Linked DNA regions of Homo sapiens: regions 1 and 2 are each linked to region 3. The links are contacts of gene promoters, found by promoter capture Hi-C in human tissues and cell types (Jung and others, 2019). All regions are on one chromosome and are shown on one strand. Each heading gives the region's core, a stretch centred on a gene start or on the middle of the fragment in contact. The rest is flanking DNA. Distances are from core to core; before and after follow the strand shown.

The links. Contacts are between HindIII fragments. The study calls those that stand out against the background at their distance.
Region 1: a fragment that was not itself captured here is called in contact with the fragment with the promoter of DNM1L in region 3 in 1 of the 25 tissues and cell types used here (aorta).
Region 2: a contact is called between a fragment that was not itself captured here and the fragment with the promoter of DNM1L in region 3, in 1 of the 25 tissues and cell types used here (lymphoblastoid cells).

The regions. Positions count from the first base shown.
Region 1 is chr12:31,522,579-31,526,821 of GRCh38, forward strand. The region is part of intron 1 of DENND5B (DENN domain containing 5B); the gene reads right to left. Among named protein-coding and RNA genes, the nearest start is that of DENND5B-AS1, 65 kb to the right of the region's middle. The HindIII fragment of the contact is 5,763 bases long and covers 1-4,243 here.
Region 2 is chr12:31,399,907-31,404,318 of GRCh38, forward strand. DENND5B (DENN domain containing 5B) reads right to left here. Exons shown (of 21, transcript NM_144973.4): 15 at 2,592-2,737. Among named protein-coding and RNA genes, the nearest start is that of LINC02387, 33 kb to the left of the region's middle. The HindIII fragment of the contact is 8,206 bases long and covers 1-4,412 here.
Region 3 is chr12:32,676,364-32,680,592 of GRCh38, forward strand. It overlaps DNM1L (dynamin 1 like), which reads left to right and starts at 2,938. Exons shown (of 20, transcript NM_012062.5): 1 at 2,938-3,102. The coding sequence starts at 3,001. RefSeq lists a silencer at 3,086-3,495. The HindIII fragment of the contact is 15,512 bases long and covers 1,545-4,229 here.

The DNA of each region.
Region 1 (4,243 bases), core at 1,059-3,558, 1.2 Mb before region 3:
GGACTACAGGCACACACCATCATGCCCGGCTAATTTTGTATTTTTTGTCGAGATGAGGTTTCACCACGTTACCCCGGCTGGTCTCGTTACTTGTGAGCTCAAGCGACACACCTGCCCTGGCCTCACCCTGGGACTACAGGTGAGCGACTGCACACGGCCTTTTTTAACCTTTAACTCTCCAATAACTTACTGCATTTGTTCAGTTCTTACCTGATCCCAGTAAAGTATCCATGACAAAAACATCTAAATACCTTTCCTTTTTTAGGCAGGAGGGAGTGGGGCTTATATGCAGGCTTTGACTTCCAGTTTTATTGAGGGTGGCTTCATCCCTTAGAACAACTTTTGTGTTGTTTTCAGACCTAGAGTGGGGCTGTGAAACTCCCAAGTCTTGGGTTATAGGGGACCAATATGGGAGATTCCCTGAGGATGTTAGCATTCCCAGAATAGGAGGGAAGGTGAGATAAATGTGCCTTTTTTTTTCCTTTTTTTTTTTTTTTAAAGAAAAAGCCTCATTCTGTCGCCCAGGCTGGAGTGCAGTGGCGTGATCTCGGCTCACTGCAGCCTCCGCCTCCCAGGTTCAAGCGATCATCCCACCCGAACCTCCCAAGAAACTGAGATTACCGGCATGCACCACCACACCTGCCTGGCTAATTTTTGTATTTTTAGTAGAGATGGGGGTTTGCCATGTTGGCCAGGCTGGTCTCAAACTCCTGGCCTCAAGTGATCCGCCTGCCTTGGCCTTCCAAAGTGTTGGGATTACAGGTGTGAGCCACCACACCTGGCCTATTCTTGCAATTCTGGAAGATTTAGGGGGCTGGCAGGAGACAAGACTGAGATTGTTTAGGCCATCCTGTTGCTGACACAATCCTGGCACTTAAGCGGGAATGCAGTGGCCTAAGTGTAAGGCAACATATCTCTCATACCATTTCACCAAAACAAAACAAAAAACACTTCTGAGTGAATGTCTGGCCATCTTATTAGCATCTTATTAATCTGTTTTGACATTATCCTAAAAATATGCTTTTCCTCAAAAAAAAAAAAGTCGTACAACACTGTGAATGTATTAAATGCCATTAAATTGTACACTTCAGAATGGTTAACTTTATGTTATATAAATTTTGCCCCAATTTTTAAAAATGAAAAAAAGAGTATATGACAAGAAAGATAACTACAGGATTACCAAAGCCATTATATTTTCCCTCATTTGTATGTACATGACACACTGGTTCTATAATGTTTCCCAAGAATAGATCTTGAATCCTAAGACTGCTGTGATGGGACTCTGAGAGAAGAGATTATAATGTCAGAATACTTAGCTCCTAGGATGTGATTAAGCTTATTTTGTTCATCACTAAAGTGGTATCATAGCATTCTTTCTACCATATTAAAGTAAATGAATCCTAATTAACATCTGTAATAGCTCAGTGGGCCTCTTTGTCTTTTAAGTGAAAACTACTGAGCCCTTTTTTTTTTTTTTTTTTTTTTAGATCATGTCATAGAAACATTGGTGGCACAATCCAAGTGGTGACGAATCAATTAATGCATGGAATAAAAAAAGAGCTGAAAAGACAGTAGTAAACATAGGGCTAATTTATGAATTGTATTTTTAATGAAATTACCTTTTATTAGGAAACTCTAAGAGGTCTATTTCTCTCCTTTTGAATTTGGGCTTGCCTTGTGACCAGCAGAATATGGCAGAAATGTCACTGTGACAGTCCTAGGTTCAGCCCTTAAGAGAGTCCTGGAAGCTCCTGTTGTTTCTATCTTAGAATTCATTTAAGAAGCCTGGTTGGGACGGGCACGGTGGCTCACACCTGTAATCCCAGCACTTTGGGAGGCTGAGGTGGGCAAATCACCTGAGGTCAGGAGTTCCAGACCAGCCTGGCCAACATGGTGAAACCCCATCTCTACCAAAAATACAAAAATTAGCCGGGCATGATGGCATGTGCCTGTAATCCCAGCTACTTGGGAGGCTGAGGGAGGAGAATCGCTTGAACCTGGAAGGCAGGGGTTGCAGTGACCTGAGACTGCACCATTGCACTCCAGCCTCGGCGACAGAGCCATGATACTCTGTGACATTTACAAAAGAAGGAATATCCTTGAAATTTAAGAAAAAATAAAAACCAAAAACAAAGAAAAAGAAAAAAAAAGAAATTTGAGCAAGGTAAGCTTAGGATAAGCAGAGGACAGTGTGACTTGACACATCAGCTTAGAGACCCAGTTTTCTATAGTCCTCTCTTAACTCCTATCATCTGAGAGCCCTACTCTCTTTTACTGATTCTCTCACCATTTCTCAGGCCTTTGTCCCTGTTCTCTTGCTCCCTTCCATTCCCCTTTCTTCATCTACTAAAATGATACACCTCATGAGAACATACACAAATGACCAATAGGCACATGAAAAGATGCAACATCATTAGTCATTAGGGAAATACAAATCGAAACCACAATGAGATACCACTTCACACCCACTTGCATGACCAAAATAGAAAAGACAGACATTAACACATGTTGGCTTAGATGTAAAGAAATTGGAACCCTCATCCATTGCTGGTGGAAATGTAAAATAATAACTGCTTTGAAAAAGTCTGCTAATTCTTCAAGTGGTTAAACATAGTATATACCCAACATTAATAAAAACATGTCTGTCCATGCAAAAATCTGAATGTTCATAGCAGCATTATTCATAATAGCCCAAAAGTAGAAACAACCTAAATTTCCATCAACTGATGAATGAAAAACTAAAATATACTTCTATAAAATAGAATATCTGGCCATAAATAGGAATGTAGTACTGATGAGTGCTACAATGTGGATGAATCTTGAAAATATGCAAAGTGAAAGATGTCAGACACATACTGTACAATTCTATTTATATGAAATACCAGAATAGGCAAATTTACAGACATATAAAGAATATGTGTTGCCAGGAGCTGAGTGAAGGGGAGAATGGGGAGTGAACACAGGTATGGGGTTTCTTTTGTGGCTGATGAAGATGTTCTAACATTTATTGTGGAATGGTTGCACAACTCTGTGAATATATGCATAGCAATTGAATTGTTTGCTTTAAATGGTGCATTTGATATGTATACGTTAATAATATCTCAATAAAGCCATTTAAAAAAATTCTATGAGGTCAGGCACGGTGGCTCACACTATAATCCCAGCACTTTGGGAGGCTGAGATGGGTGGATTGGCTTGAGCTGAGGAGCTCATGACCAGCCTGGGCAGCATGGAGAAACCCCTTCTCTACAGAAAAATATAAAAATTGGCCAGGTGTGGTAGCAAGTGCCTGTGGTCCCAGCTACTCCAGAGGCTGAGGTGGGAGAATTGCTTAAGCCCAGGAGGCAGAGGCTGCAGTGAGCTGAGATTGCACCATTGCACTCCAATCTGAGCAGTGGAAGTGAAACCCTGTCTCGAATAAATTTTTTAAAAAATTCTATTAATACTTTAAGGGCAAGTTTAAATGTGATCTTCTCCCTATTTCTCACCTCACCCAGTTAACATTAATAATTTCCTCTGTGCTGTCAAACCAGTTGTTATTACAGTCTGTTAGTTATATATTACCTATATTAGAACCCAGGCTAGTAAAAAACTTACTCAAATTTCTTTACATCCCCCTTCACAAGGAGGAATTCGATACAGTTCATTACACAGGGTAGGTACCTAACACGTCTTTACTACAGAAATATTTACATTTACCCATTAAAATGTCACAAACAGTTAATGGTTAGGCTAGGATTCACCTCTTCAAATGACAACATGAAAGGATTGGGAAGCTCTGATGGCAGAAGAGAAGACGCTAGATAAACTCTGCATTTGACCCAGAAAACATGTCAAATCCTATGATCTTGTCTAAAGTTCAACAATGCCCTGTAGCTATATATTCTAGTGCTCCTAAGTTTTACAACCTTTCCTTCCTTTAGAAATATTCACGATGTGAATGCTGAGGCATAAATAAATAAAAGAAATATTCACTTGAGCAAATAATCCACAAGAATCCTTTAAGAAGTAGTCTCTGCAGAGATTAGGGGAGACTAAAGAGACATAACTAAATGCAATGTGGTATCCTGGATTGGACAGTGGAACAGAAAAAGGGTATTAGTGGAAAAATTCACGAAATCCAAATGAAGCCTGGAGTTTAGTTAACAGTATTATTCCAATGTTAATTTCTTAGTTTTGATGAATGTACCATGGTTATGTGAAACGTTAACATTTGGAGAAACTGGGTGAAGGGTAAACAGGA
Region 2 (4,412 bases), core at 1,848-4,347, 1.3 Mb before region 3:
GAGAAATATATTCACATATATTCCTTGCTCTCAGGGAGCTCCCACATAATGAGATAGGAGACATATGGACATTAACTACCAAATGAGGGGCACTGCACACAGTGCTAGATTAGAGATGTAAAAAGTGCTAGAAGAACGCTGGGGAAGGAACAGTTACTTCTACTTGGGGAACCCACAAACAACACAGACAGTGACTTGTGCCTTGAAGGGTAAGAATAATTTCTAAAAACAGGAAAAAGATGCTATTTAGATTTTGTTACAAAGAGGTCAAGAAAACAATTATAGATTTTAAAAATCACTGACACTGATATTCTTTTCTTTTTTAGAAAATTTTTTGTGGGTACACAGTAGGTATATATATTTATAGGGTACATGAGATGTTGATATTTTTCTGTTCCAATAAGATACTAAGGCAGAACTGACCTCAGACCTCATATACTAGAAGTCTTTGAAGCTATTTTTTAAAAGGCATAGTTATCAATAAGTTATCTTCACTGGTCCTTTGTGGACAAGTACAAAATAAAGCAATGATAATAGGAATAGCAAAAATGAATACTAATTAAATTCTGACTTCTAAAATCTGATAATGAAAAGATCACTGACCCCAACAATGTGCTGGATGACAACATCAGAATTGTAAGTTCTTTTTTTTGGTTAATTTTAATTTTTAATTTTTATGGGTACCTAGTAGATGTGTATATTTATGGATTAATTGAGATATTTTGATATAGGCATGCAATGCCTAATAACTGTATCAGGGTAAATGGGGTGTCTGTCACCTCAAACATTTATCATTTGTGTGACAATCCAATTATACTTTTAGTTATTTTAAAATGTACAGTTAAATTATTGTTGACTATAGTCACCCTGCTGTGCTAGCAAATACTAGGTCTTATTCACTCTATTTTTTTGTACCCATTAGAGCTACGAGTTTTTTTTTTTTGTTTTTTTTTTAGACAGAGTTTCGCTCTCGTTGCCCAGGCTGGAGTGCAATGGTGCAATCTCCGCTCACCACAACCTCCGCCTCCCGGATTCAAGCGATTCTCCTGCCTCAGCCTCCCGAGAAGCTGGGATTACAGGCATGTGCCACCATGCCCGGCTAATTTTTGTGTTTTTAGTAGAGAGGGGGTTTCTTCATTTTGGTCAGGCTGGCCTCAGACTCCCGACCTCAGGTGATCCGCCTGCCTCGGCCTCCCAAAGTGCTGGGATTACAGGCGTGAGCCACTGGCCCGGCCAGAGCTACGAGTTCTTAAAGCACTTTATTCTTTGTATCTCAGTGAGAAGGCATCACCATGCTCTAACTTAGGGATGATGGCATCTTGAATTAGTTGTGCAGCAGAGATGGAAAGAAGTAGGTAGACATGAGAGAGACAGCTTAGAAATGGCAATGATGGGGGTTTTAATGTACTTTCATTATTGTTAGATGAAGAAAAGCCAAGGGTTTTAATATTTTATATACAGGTGGCTTTGAGTCTACTGCATGGATAAGGCCAAACTGGGCTCCTGGGGGCGGGAGGGCATCATGACTCTAAGTGGAAACTGCTATTTCGAGACCCCAAGGAACATGAGAATGGGACATTCAGTTCGTACCATTTCCTTCCTCAAACACAACAATTATTTGTCCTCTTCCTCCACCAAGATCAACCTGTGTACAGGCTTAACCCCATGGAACTATTTCACCAAGTAAGACTGAAAATTGACTACAATATTAAAAGGTGGCTGTTTGTTTTGTTTTGTTTTTTGAGACACAGTCTCACTCTGTCACCCAGGCTGGAGTGCAGTGGCACAATCCTGGCTCACTGCAACCTCTGTCTCCTGGGCTCAAGTGACCTCAGCCTTGCAAGTACCCAGACTACAGGTGCATGCCACCATGCCCAGCTAATTTTTGTATTTTTTGTAGAGATGGAGTCTCACCATGTTGCCCAGGCTGGTCGTCTCAAACTCCTGGGCTCAAGCAATCTGCTCACCTTGGTCTCCCAAAGTGTTGAGATTATAGGCATGAGTCACTGCGCCTGGCCAAAAGGCATTTTTATAGAATCATTCTATAAATGTCACCATGTGGTCTAAAACCAGTAAGCAGATGCTTGAACCCAGGAGGTGGAGGTTGCAACGAGTGAAGATCACACCACTGCACAGCCTGGGCGAAAGAGCAAGATTCCGTCTCAAAAAAAAAAAAAAAAAAATCCATAAGCATGAATATCAGCTCTCCTGTCCTTTTGCCAAAGGATGACCAGGTTTGGGCAGAAAACATTTTACAGTAGGGAGGAGAACCACCGCGGGGAAAACATTTATTTGAATATTTCCTGCTTGCTAGAATCTGTGCTAGACCCTGAAAATAGTAGGAGAAGACCTAGAAAGCCCCAAAGCACATCATTACAAGTGAAAAATAGAGCTTAACAATGAAAATGCAAAACAAATTAGTATATAAGCTGCTTAAGACAACTTTAGACATATAATCACAAAAATGATCCTGCACGCTTTGAGTGTTCCTCTATTTTATTTGATTCAAGGAAAAATGAAAAAGCCAGACAGAATCATCTGTAAAACTACACGTGATACATTCTTCTAGGAAAGGTATTAGCTGAACCTACCTCAAAGGTCATTTCGAGGAGGTTTTTGGGAATCTGCATTACTCCTGTGTCTCCCAGCTCTCCTGATACACAGATCCAAGGGTTTGATGTGATTATTGCATTGCTCAGCTTTTTGATTGGGATGATCACTGACCTATACGGAATCACTGAAAGAAAAATGCAGAAATTAATTAAAAAGCGGGAATAAAATTCTCCTTATAACAAAACATATATTAAGAACTCTTGTTGGTTTTCATTGATAATTTGCTTTTTATGAGCTATCAAGATGTACTTATACGAAAAGTTGAGATCATAACCTTTCAGTCTAGAAAGATGAGATCTAGTTTGCAAACCAGAAGTCTCAATACTCGTAGCAGTGGTTTTCACAGCATGTATATCATCATGTATGTATGATGCATATATCAACATTAAACGTATGAACAATCTCAAGCATTAGCACGAGAATACCTAAAGATGTGAACACTGACTGTGTATATTGTGTTTTCATTGCTTAAATTTTCTTAAAAATTAATTTTGTAACAAAATTGAATAGAAATGAACATGATTACTGATATGGTTTTATATAAAAAGAGGGGTGGATGACTTCTTGGACAGTATTGAGTTTCTTGGGCAATGCTTTAAAGCACTGCATTTCAGAACTTTCCTGTCCCAAGTTTACAGAACAATATGCAAAAACCACAAATAATAAACAATGGAACCTCCACTCTGGACATATCGTGAAGTCTATAAACCACAACTTTGAAAGCTATTAAGGTGACTCACACGCAAGAGGAGCCCAGGGAGGCTCTTCCACAGACAGACCACTAGATGTCACTGCCCTATCACTGTCCTTTGCTCAAATGTGGAAGCACGAGAGGTTAGATGTTATGCATGTCCTCCCTTCTTTTTTTTTCTTTTTTTTTTTTGCCAACATGGCAAAACCCCGTCTCTACTAACAGTACAAAAATTAGCCGGGTGTGGTGGCAGGCGCCTGAAATCCCAGCTACTTGGGAAGCTCAGGCAGGAGAATCACTTGAACCCGGGAGGCAGAGGTTGCAGTGAGCTGAGATTGCACCACTGCATTCCAGCCTGGGCAACAGAGTGAGACTCTGCCTCAGAAAAAAAAAAGAAAGAAAAAAGAAAACGGCTGGATGTGGTGGCCTGTAATCCTAGCACTTTGGGAGGCCGAGGTGGGTGGATCACAAGGTCAGGAGCTTGAGACCAGGCTGACCAACACGGTGAAACCCCGTCTCTACTAAAAATACAAAAATTAGCCAGGTGTGGTGGCACACACCTGTAATCCCAGCTACTCAGGAGGCTGAGGCAGGAGAATCGCTTGAACCCGGGAGGCAGAGGTTGCAGCGAGCCGAGATTGTGCCATTGCACTCCAGCCTGGGCAACAGGAGTGAAACTCCATCTCCAAAAAAAAAAAAAAAAAAAAAAAAAAAGTGCAGACAGGGCCAGGCACGGGGGCTCATGTCTGTAATCCTACCTAGCACCTTGGAAGGCTGAGGTGGGCAGATCACTTGCGCTCAGGAGTTCATGACCAGCCTGGGCAACAAAGTGAGACCTTGTCTCTATACAAAATAAAAAACATAATTAGCCAGGTCTGGTGGTACACACTTGTAGTCCCAGCTACTCAGGAGGATGAGGAGGGGGGATCCCTTGAGCCAGGGAGGTCAAGGATGCAGTGAACTCTGATCCCACCACTGCACTCCAGCCTGGGCAACACAGCGAGACCCTATCTCAAAACAAAAAGGGGGCAGATGGTTTAAGCACATAAGCATTTTTGTCCATCACAGCCATACATTTCTGGTTTTTTGTTTGTTGGTTTTCTAGAGA
Region 3 (4,229 bases), core at 1,688-4,187:
TTTTTGAGACGGAGTTTTGCTCCTGTTGCCAAGGCTGGAATGCAATGGTGCAATCTCGGCTCACCGCAACCTCTGCCTCCCGGGTTCAAGCAATTCTCCTGCCTCAGCCTCCCGAGTAGCTGGGATTACAGGCGTGCACCATCACGCCCAGCTAATTTTTGTATTTTTAGTAGAGATGGGGTTTCTCCATGTTGGTCAGGCTGGTCTTGAACTCCCGACATCAGGTGATATGCCCACCTTGGCCTCCTGAAGTACTGGGATTACAGGCATGAGCCACCGTGCCCGGCCTTCTGTTTTCTTTAGAAGAAAACAAAAGCTCCATCAACAGAGGGGTGAGAAGCAAAGTGGGTAATATCTGACTATTATGTAATATTATCTTTGGTAGAAAGTCAAGAGACTTGGAATAAAACTGTTTTTTGGAGTTCTGAAATTTTTGTCTTATTTTATCTCTGAAAAATTTTTTTTTTGAAAATAATCAAAGAGGAGATGTTCACAAAACCTGTCAAGATGCCAAAACACCACTAATGGATCTTTAGGTCTTGGCTTACTTCATCCATTTGTTCACAGATATTTATTAAGCACCTGCCATTTGTCCTGCTGAACAAATCAAGCATGTTCCCCGCAGCCATTGTGTACAGCTAAGCAGGTGAATGGCACCCACTGGAGTTGCGTAGTGCACAACTTCCACTACTGCTGGTGGTTCTTGTCCTCATGGAGATTAAATTTAGTAACTTCTAGGAAGTCTTTCTCGAATCTCTATCCTCTTGCTCAGACTGGAAAAAGTGCTCTTATTATGTTTTCTTTTCTCTTTTCTCTTTTTTTTTTTTTGACACAGGGCCTCACTCTGTCACTTAGGCTGGAGTGCGGTGGCACGATCACAGTTCACTGCAGTCCCCACCTCCCAAGCTTAGGTGATCCTCCTACTGCAGCCTCCCAAGTAGTTGGGGCCACAGGTATGCACCACCACGACAGGCAAGCTAATTTTTTTGTATTTTTTGTAGAGACTGGGTTTTGCCGTGTTGCCCAGGCTGGCCTTGAACTCCTGACCTCAAGTGATCTGCCCGTCTCCTGCCTCAGCCTCCTGAGTAGCTGGGATTACAGGAATGCACCACCACGCCCGGTTAATTTTTGTATTTTTAGTAGAGACGGGGTTTCTCCATGTTGGTCAGGCTGGTCTTGAACTCCTGACCTCAAGTGATCCGCCTGCCTTGGCCTCCCAAAGTGCTGGAATTACAGGCGTGAGCCACGGTGCCTGGCCTCTCCTCACCTGCTTTAATTCTTTACTCAAATGTCACCTTTTTACTTTGAGGTTTACTTTTACCTTTGGAGGTTTGGAGTAGAGGAGGGATACTATCTGTCTAAAAAGAAAAACAACATTTAGAAATATAACAGTATGGGCCGGGCATGGTGGCTCAGGCCTGTAATCCCAGGACTGTGGGAGGCCAAGATGGGCGGATCACTTGAGGTCAGGAGTTCGAGACCAGCCTGGCTAACATGGTGAAACCCCGCCCCCCACCCGTCTCTACTAAAAATACAAAAATTTTCCCAGGGTGGTGGCGGGTGCCTGTAATAACAGCTACTTGGGGGGCTGAGGCAGGAGAATCACTTCAGCCTGGGAGGAGGAGGCTGCAGTGAGCCGAGATTGCGCCACTGCATTCCAGCCTGGGCGACAGAGTCAGACTCTGTCTCAAAAAAAAAAAAGAACGGTATGAGCAAAGAGTGAGTAAGGCAGTTATCAGATGTCTACTTTGCCAGGAATCAGGCTACAGCAAATAAAGGTTTATACATAATATTGATAATAAATGCCCAGCTCTTCCCCTGTAAAACTCCAATACTCTAAGATTTTTTTCATGAACACCGCCCCCCGCTGCTCCGACCCCTGCTTTTTTATTTATTTATTTATTTATTTGGTAGAGATGAGGTCTCACTATGTTGACCAGGCTGGTCTCGAACTCCCAGCTCAAGCGATCCTCCTGCTTCTGCTTCCTAAAGTGCTGGGATTACACCGCGCTCGGTCCTGAACACACATTTTGTTTGTTTGTTTGTTTGTTTACAAAACCCCTGGAGAACCCGCGTATTCTAACCTGGGCTGGTTTTTGTATTTTTGCAAAATAACACCCCACACATTCTCGTATCAGCGTGCAGATTTTTTTGCACCCAGTTTGGTTGTTTGCGGCCATAAGCTTTTCTTTAAGCCTTTCCAACCCGTCCTTCTAGAGAAAGTGTCTTCATAAGGAAGTCACACTGCTCACGCCTGTAATCCCAACACTTTGGGAGGCCGAGGCGGGTGGATCACTAGGTCCGGAGATCGAGACCATCCTGGAAAACACAGTGAAACCCCGTCTCTACTAAAAATACAAAAAATTAGCCGGGCGTAGTGGTGGGTGCCTGTAGTCCCAGCTACTCCGAAGGCTGAGGCAGGAGAATGGCGTGAACCCGGGAGGCGGAATTTGCAGTGGGCCGAGATCGCGCCACTGCACTCCAGCCTGGGCGACAGAGTGAGACTCCGTCTCAAAAAAAAAAAAAAAATAAATAAATAAAAAATAAATAAAAGGAAGTGACACTGGATAATTAAGAGACACACCATTGCGCCTTTAACACATATTCACACCCAGCACTGTCACATCCATCGTGCCTTGAGGACAGGCATAAATTTACGGCCTTCCTCCTGCGCTCCCGGCCTGCTCCTAGCCTTTGACTAGAGCCTGCGCAGCATCCCAGTCCCAGGCTAGGGCCCACCGGTGCCGCGCAGCCTCCTGGAAGCTGTGGGGAGTAGCGTTCCTCCGCTCCAGAACTACAACTCCCAGCAGGCCTTGCTCCTCTCCACCTCCCTCGCAGCGCATGGCCTGCCGGGAGGGGGCAGGTAGCCGGCGGGCCCGGTCCAATGGGTGCCGGCTTCCGAGGAGAGGGCGGAGGAGAGGAGGAAGGAGGCGAACTGTGGGCCCCGGCCCCATTCATTGCCGTGGCCGGCGGGCACTGGGGCCCCGTGTTTTCAGAGTCATGGAGGCGCTAATTCCTGTCATAAACAAGCTCCAGGACGTCTTCAACACGGTGGGCGCCGACATCATCCAGCTGCCTCAAATCGTCGTAGTGGGAACGCAGGTGAGAGCAGCAGGCGGCGTTCGCTCGGGCCAGACCCCGGCCGCAGGCCTGGTCGGTGCTGCGGCAGTGCCCACTCCCGCGCCAGCGCCCACTCCCGCGCCAGCCTTTGGGGCCTGTGGGAGGAGGGCCTTGCTGGGGGCCCCAGGGCTCTCCGGGCTCTGCCGCACCCGCCCTCCCGGGGCAGCGTTGCATCAAGGCGGAGAATCCGGGGCCCGGCCAGGGGCGGAGCCGGCGCGGCGGGCCTGGCTAGCCCGGCGGGTCCCGGGGACAGGAGAGGGAAGGATGGGGCCGGCGGGCGGAACTGGAGTCCGCTGGGACCGGGCGCGGCCTCGTCCGCGTGCCGCTGCCTCCAAGGGCACCTGGGGGACGCGCGGGGCACTCGGGTCTCGCTGGGCTCGGTGGGCTGGCTGTTCCCATCACTGTTGGCTTTCGTGAGACGGGTGTTTTATTTCCCTCCTTGCCTTGCCCAGGGACTGCGGAGTTAGTTTTGGAATCGCTCTGTTGAGGCTGAGAGACGCTACGGTGCGTGAGCGCCAGTGTTTTCCTGCAGTATAATTCCACCAGGTTTCGAGAACGCCGAAGCAGCATTTTAAAAAAAGAAAAACAAAACGTGTATCTAGAGTTCTGCGGGTGTTGGGAAGGAATATCCGATTTTTCTGCGTAGGCTGTGCTTTTTGTCTTCCACAGTTTTGTGATCGTGACCTAAATTGGGCATCAGTTTCTCTGGTCTTCTCATAGCTAACTCATTTTTTTTTGAATGCAGAAATGTTGGCAAAATAACTGTTATTTCTAGAGTGACAGAGGAGAAGTATAATTTTCCTTTTCTCTGCTACTTCGATTAGAGTTCAGAGAAACGGATTTTAGAAATTAGTATATTGATATTAAGTGCTTTCATTTCTTAATAGTATCTTTTCTATTGAGAAGGAGCGGTTTCCCCATCATTTTCCAGGAGGTACATAGTATAGGGTATAAGTGCTATCAGAAGGAACTTACTGTTCAAAGTATTAGTGGCTATCCAAACACTGGAAACTATAGACACCCTGTACTCGTTTGTTTGTTTGTTTGTTTTTTTGGCTTTTAAATAGTTGAAGCAATAGAAATTGTTTTAGAAACACATTTCCTTGGTC